Linked DNA regions of Homo sapiens: region 1 is linked to region 2. Evidence: promoter capture Hi-C in human tissues and cell types (Jung and others, 2019). All regions are on one chromosome and are shown on one strand. Each heading gives the region's core, a stretch centred on a gene start or on the middle of the fragment in contact. The rest is flanking DNA. Distances are from core to core; before and after follow the strand shown. Region 1 holds the start of MFSD2A (MFSD2 lysolipid transporter A, lysophospholipid). Region 2 holds the start of PPIE (peptidylprolyl isomerase E).

Region 1 (3,449 bases), core at 42-2,541, 220 kb before region 2:
CTGAGCCCAGCCCAGGCTCCCACCCTGCCTCAGAGACAGGATCCACCTGCCTACTCCTGGTGAGAGCTCTAGAGAGCTACGGGGGCCCGGCCCAGCTGGCTGCAGGCGCAGCTGTTCCACCTATCCCAGAGCATCCCTGACCACTATAGGCAGCCAGAGCTTCAGGCGGACCCAGGAACTGTCCTACTCTCCAGCTTCCCGACCCATCGCCCTCCACCCCTGAGCTCCTAGAGGACCTTGGAGACGGGAGGAAAGGCCTCCAGGTTCAGGCCTGATCCCTCTCCGGGTGGGGCACTAGGGAGGTTGGGTTGCCCAGGGAAAGTAGATATTACTCATACATAGTAACAGCATAATTGCTCACCCAGCTCCTTCCAAAGATCAGTTAATAAAATTAAAAGGAAAAGGCAGTCACCTCCCACGAAGGTATCTATTGCCTGAGATCCTTTCCTAGGGGGCCGCCTCATTTTATTTGGTCCTTCAATAAGTCCCCAGGGCTGGGGATGTGGTCGATGGTCTCGATGCGCAAAGCACCGTTCCCGCGCGAACATCCACATTCAGACAAATGCCTGAGGGACGCGGCTCCTTTAAGAGCAGAGCTCTTGTTCTTATGAATGAACTTGAGCGGCCCTAACAGCAGAGTTGAGGCGCAAGAGTAGGTGGGTGGAGTGGGAGGTAGGGGATGAGAGATGGGGAACCAAGGGGAGTTTCCCAGATTTCTGGGGTCATCTCTGGGGTTTGGGGCGGCAAGCCCCAGCCGCTCAACACGGAAGAATGGAAACCGGCTAGGCAGAGCGGGGAATCACATGGGGCTGCCGGCAGAGCCTCTCCGCAGAGCGTGGAGTGCGGGTGAGCAAAGGGGGGCGAGGGCGCCCACAGCTTTTCTCCGTCACCCCCTGTCCCAGGGCACCCCCAGGTCCTCTCTGGCTCGTAGGCTTCCTGTCCCTGGCTATCCCAATGGTCCCCTGACCAGGCCGACCCCGGGACGCCCCTGATCCCCCATTTCCGCCTCCTCCCTCCCCTCGCCCTCCACGCGGGGTGCCGGGCCCTCACCTTCACCTGGGCCGGGCGTTCAGTGCTTTGGAGGATGCTGGTGGGTAGCAGCCCCGCCGCGGAGCCGCTCTCGGCGCCTTCTCCTTTGGCCATGACCCGCGGGCCACGCCGCTTGGGACCTGGTAGACGGGATGCTCCTCTGCCCCGCAGGCCGCTGCTCCTCCCAAGCTCGCTTCGTAGCAGCCTTAGCCACGGCCGCCGCGCGCTAGCCAAGCCGGCTGGCAGACGAGGAACGCACTCTGCTGCACGCCCCCTCCGCGCCTCTTATAGTTCTGCCCAGCCCTCTCGGTTGCGGCCAATCCCCGAGCCCCGCTGCCCCGCCTCCAGCCAATCCCGTCGCCCGCCTCCCTGCCCCCGCCTCGCCCGGCGGCTCTGTGCCACCGAGCCACGTTCTCCAAGCCCCGGAACCGGCATCTGCCTGCGCTGGCTCCTAGCAATCCGAGAAGCAGGCCGCGAGACCTCCCAGACACGCGCGAGGAAACCGAGGCCCCAGGCTGAAAGTGATCTGCCCGGGGTCCCCGATCTGCCCGAGGTCCCCGAGGTCCCCAAGGTCCGACTCTCCCCGAGTCGGGCCTACCACCCATGACTTCTGAGCCCCAGGCCTAGGAAAGGTAGGGGCTCTGAAGCCCACTTTAAAATCTGGAGTCAGGGCCTCTCTCCTTCTTCAAGCCTAGAGGACGTACGCTGACACTTTCCCTCCTGATGCCTCTCTCTCATCCCCGAAGACACACCATTCCCCCGTCCTGCCCTTGGCATCCGGGCAATGGGGAGAAAGATGAGGCAATCCAGTGGCTGCCCCTGCCAGAAGGGAGCTCCCAAGTCGTGGAGAGAAGCCGGGGCTACGCCCGCTAGTACACTATGACAACAGTGGCCTTTTTATGGATAGCTTCCTCCATGCTTAATATGATCTCTTTCGGCCCTCAAAAACCACCAAGTGAGGGTGGTACTATTATTATCCCCATTTTACAGCACAGGAAGGGGAAACTTGGAGAAGTGAAGCAACTGTTATGTAGCAGAGCCAGGCCTGAAAGGTTTTGTCCGATACCAAAGCAGTTGCTCTCAACAGCCCTGCTCTATCCCTCTTAGCATAAATTACAGACGGCAGAATGGGGTGTATGTGTCTCCCAACAAGAAGCCCTGGGAGATACATGGCTCCAGAGGCACTGAGGGTTGAAACAGGGAAAGTTTTGAAAAAGAGAATGCCCAGAAATGTGGTCCTCAAAAGAAGATGGGAGGGCATTAGTTTGGAACAGAAGGCAGGCACGGATGCCAGAAAAGAACAGTCTTTAGTTCCACCTCTGAGTCCCTTATGTCAATGTCACCCCGGTCTTTCCAGTTCTCTGATTAGTGAAGGGGCTGCTGGAACTCTCAAAGGCTACCCACCCGGTTCCTGTGCTCCTTAATGTCAGCCTCCTTCTTCCTTTCTTTAAATCTCTGATTGCAGGGAGGAGAGATAAGGTCTATCTGCCCCAGGATGGTCACACCATGCTCCCTCATACGCCAGCAGATCCCATCTGGGCACACAGCTCTTGGCCATTGCTGAGCAGAAGAGAGCCAAAGTGAGGCACTGAATACTGTGGAAAGGGAATGGCTGGCCCCATTACTCCAAGCTGTGTGACACTGTTCTGTCTCTTTTCCCCTCTCCAGGCTTGGTTAGCTAAGCTCCCTTGCAGCCCCCAAATCTTCTCTCCCACAGTCACACCATACCACAAGTGATCTGTATCCCCCGGTTGACAATGAGCTCCTCAGGTAGGAACCGCATCTTTTTCACTTCTGTGTCCCCACCAACTAGCTTAGGGCCTGAATTATTGTGTTCAGTGAATGAATGTTCAGTCTTCCCCTGCTAAGGTACAAGCACACAGAAACCCATTAGGAAAAGCCCTAAGTGTCTCCATTTACTAGCTGTGCGGCTGACTCTGAACAACTCAGTTAACCTCCCTGTGTAAAATGGTGATATTAATAGTAGCTACTGGCCAGGCACCCTGGCTCACGCCTGTAATCCCAGCACTTTGGGAGGCTGAGGTGGGTGGATCACGAAGTCAGGAGTTCCGGACCAGCCTGGCCAATATGGTGAAACCCTGTCTCAACTAAAAATACAAAAATAAGCCGGGTGTGGTGGGGCACACCTGTAGTCCCAGGTACTCAGGAGGCTGAGGCAGAAGAATCGCTTGAACCCAGGAGGCGGAGGTTGCAGTGAGCCGAGATCGTGCCACTGCACTCCAGCCTGGGTGACAGACAAAGACTCTTGTCTCAAAAAAAAAAAAAAATTAATAGTAGCTACCTAATAGATTTGTTTTGGGGATGAAACAAGAAAATGCACAGGAAGCATTTAGCACAAGTGCCTGGGAGCTGAAGCTGGGCTGGTCCCCCTCCTGGCCTGATTCCAGTCTGTCAGTGTA
Region 2 (3,294 bases), core at 546-3,045:
TGTGAGAGACGCTTTCCTTAGAACAGCACTTACTTCTGATCTCTCTGGAAGCATCAGCCTAAGGCCCAAAAACCTAACCAAATGGTGAAAAGCTTCCTTTGTAATCAGTAACAACATCACAAACCAAGGACTAGACACTAGTAACACAGACTCTCACCTCTGCCAACTCAAATTCAACAAAAGCAAATCCTCGGTGCTTTTCTACAAAATGGAAAAACAAAAACAAGTAATTACTATGTGGGGTAGTGGGAAGAAACAGGATGGTCACAAAGTGAAGTCAGTTACATGTCGTATCCAAACACCAGAAGTTCTATCCAATCACTATTTAGGAAGAAGGAATCTCATTCTTGATTCTTCTTATACAATATTTTAAGCAATAATAAACTTTGTTTTTTTAATGGACATAGCTGAATAGTAAACTGTATTTTTAATTGATAAGTATTCAATTATTCTACGAAAGCCAAACTTAAAACCTTAACCATTGCATGCAAAGCAATTAGAAAAATAAAGTCATTTGACCTATCAATTATCTATCTAAATATATATTTTGCGCATCAACTGTGCATAAAGCATGAATCCTAAAACCTGATAAAGATGCTCAGTCTTTATCTTCAGGAAAATGCTGAACTAACTAGAAAGACCAAGCACAATAATGTTTATCATAGAACTCAGAGACTAGAAGGCCCTTAGAAAGCCAACATAACCTTATCATTTTGCAAATAAAGATTTCCCAGGCCCAGAGAGTTTAAAGACTTTGCTAACAATCATATGCAAGGTTGATGATAAAACTAGGCCTAAAACTATAATCTTAAAAATGACAACAAAGGTAAACAGAAAACTGAACTGTGGTTGTGATACCAATCGATGGGAAACCCACCCAGGGGTGCAGAGGCCAAGAACCCCCGCCCTCACCCACCCCCATTATGGGGCTAGGCTTTCCCGCTGCCTCATTTAATAGCACAGCTGCAAGAAGGTGCAGGTGGGATGGGGTACCCATCAGGTAGATTAAAACAACATTCAAATCTCAATGTAGTTCAAACCTATCTCCCTACTGGTCTATTGAAAAATCTGTCTTATCTCAACCCAACAGCTGAAGACTCTGGAAAGTATTCAGAGTTCACAACCACATGGCCTCAGAACATTCCTTCTCCATCGAGATCACTGTCACCAGACACCTTCCTGAACTTACCTGTAGTGTATACTAACCATATTTAGAATGCATATTTAGAATTGTGATGTGACTTTAATTTTTTAAGGTATTTTCCTAGTAAGAGGATTCTGAACGTGAGAGACACTAACTCACCTGTTTCATAATCCAGAGGAATCTGAATATCTGTGATGTCTCCAAAAGGAATGAACGCAGCATGAAGAACTTTGTCGTCCACTTCCTCTGCCAGTCCACCTGCAAATAAGCCAAGGGCCTTCTGAGCCACTGATCTCCATACTCTTGCAGAAGTCCTTGCAGCCCAGTTAGCATGCTAGCCAGGGGACAGGACCCTTCCATTCAGTTCTTTGGGTAAACAAACATCCCCCTCTCATCTCTGCCCACCCATACTTATGAAAAATATTCCTCTCTTCGCCCTTCTTTCAGACTCTCATCTAGTCCTGGGATTACTGCAATAGCTTCACAACTGACCTCCCTGCCTCCATTCCATCAACTCCACAAAGCCAACTAGAATGATCTTAGGAAAATGCAAATTTGAACCCGTAACTTTTCGCTTACACTCCTTCAAAGGCTTCCCACTGTCCTCAGGATAAAGTGCAAACTCCTTAGCAGTACCCACCTCTCCAGCTTTTTTGCTTTGCTTCCTAATTTCCTGGGTCTCCCGAATAATGACCCACTTGCCCCCAAGTGTCAGGCTATTTCACACCTTTGCGACTCCCTTGCAGTGAACGGCCTTGCCTCTGCTTCGGTTACGTAGCTAACTCCTGCTCATCAGCTCTGGCATCGCCGCATCCAGAATTTGCCCTCGCTTCTCCAGATGGATGGGTCATTTGTCCCGCAGCCAGGCCCATATTATCATGATCCATCCTCACTACAGCGCTTATCAAAAGTGTGCTACTGAGGTAATTCCACTTTTTTTCTGGCTAGTCTGGGAACTCCTTCCTTTATGGCAGGGGCTGGGGCTGAGCCGTCGCTGCACTGAATGTTTGTAAAACAAATGAACGAGAGGATCCGAAGGGCCATAATACTCCTTTACCGCTCCTCGGGGCCCGCTGGAGCTCAGCGGGCTAGGAAGTCAGAATAATCATTCCGTCTCGGGTTCACGCACCTGAGGTGTGTGGCAAGGCTGTTCACTGCAAGGGAGTCGCAAAAGCAGAGGCCCAAAGGTGTGAAATAACCTGAACCTTGGGGGCAAGTGGGTCATTTTTCGGGAGACCCAGCGAATCGGGAAGCAAAGCAAAGAAGCTGGAGAAGTGCGTACTGCTAAGAAGTCTGCACTTTTTCCTGAGGACAGTGGGAAACCTTGGAAGGAGTTTAAGCACAGCCAGAGCTATCGCCAGCACTACCGCCAGAGACCCGGCCTTGACAGCAGCTCGCCGTCCTCCTGGTTCAGAGATGCGTCCCACCCCACGCCCCGACCCTTGGGGGTCGCGTTCACTCAGACTCCGCCTAGCAACCCCTCCTGCTCACCCACGTACAAGACGCGCTTGGTGGTGGCCATCTTGCTCGCGCGCTTTTCCGCCGGAAGCCAGCACTCGACCCGTCCTCTTCCCCACTGTCCCGCCCCGCCCCCAACGCTTAGCTCTTAGACCCCGCCCACCCTCGCGTTGGTCCAACCGGCATCCCGCTACCCGGATGCACTGGGCGCCTTGTGAGGTGCGCAGTGGTAAACCAAGGGACGTGGTCCTCGCGCTTCCCAGTGCGCACCGTGTTGGGGGAGGGAAACCTTGGCCGAATCAACCCGATTATTATGGGCAAACGATAAACTCTGGTGCTTGGCCATCCTGCGCGTCTGTTTTTGGACAACCTGGGAGCTAAGAATGAATTTTACCTTTTGAAATAGTTGGAAAAAATAAAAAAACTATATTTTCTTGGCCGGGCGTGGTGGCTCATGCCTGTAGCCCCAGCACTTTGGGAGGCTGAGGCGGGCGGATCACCTGAGGTCAGGAGTTCGAGAGCAGCCTGGCCAACATGGTGAAACCCCGTCTCTACTAAAAATGCAAAAATTAGCCAGGCGTGGTAGCGGGCGCCTGTAATCGCAGCTACTCAGGAGGCTGAGGCTGGAGAATCGCTTGAACCCAGGTAGCGGAGGTTGCAGTGAGCAGAGATCGCGCCGTTGCACTCCAGCC

What was found. Contacts are between HindIII fragments. The study calls those that stand out against the background at their distance.
Region 1: a contact is called between the fragment with the promoter of MFSD2A here and a fragment that was not itself captured in region 2, in 1 of the 25 tissues and cell types used here (dorsolateral prefrontal cortex).

Annotation. Positions count from the first base shown.
Region 1 is chr1:39,952,987-39,956,435 of GRCh38, reverse strand. MFSD2A (MFSD2 lysolipid transporter A, lysophospholipid) reads right to left here and starts at 1,291. Exons shown (of 14, transcript NM_032793.5): 1 at 1,051-1,291. The coding sequence starts at 1,143. RefSeq lists a silencer at 1,340-1,469. The HindIII fragment of the contact is 9,041 bases long and covers 1-3,449 here.
Region 2 is chr1:39,738,273-39,741,566 of GRCh38, reverse strand. It overlaps PPIE (peptidylprolyl isomerase E), which reads right to left and starts at 2,685. Exons shown (of 10, transcript NM_006112.4): 1 at 2,636-2,685; 2 at 1,304-1,402; 3 at 158-201. The coding sequence starts at 2,666. RefSeq lists an enhancer at 2,428-2,637. The HindIII fragment of the contact is 4,843 bases long and covers 1-3,294 here.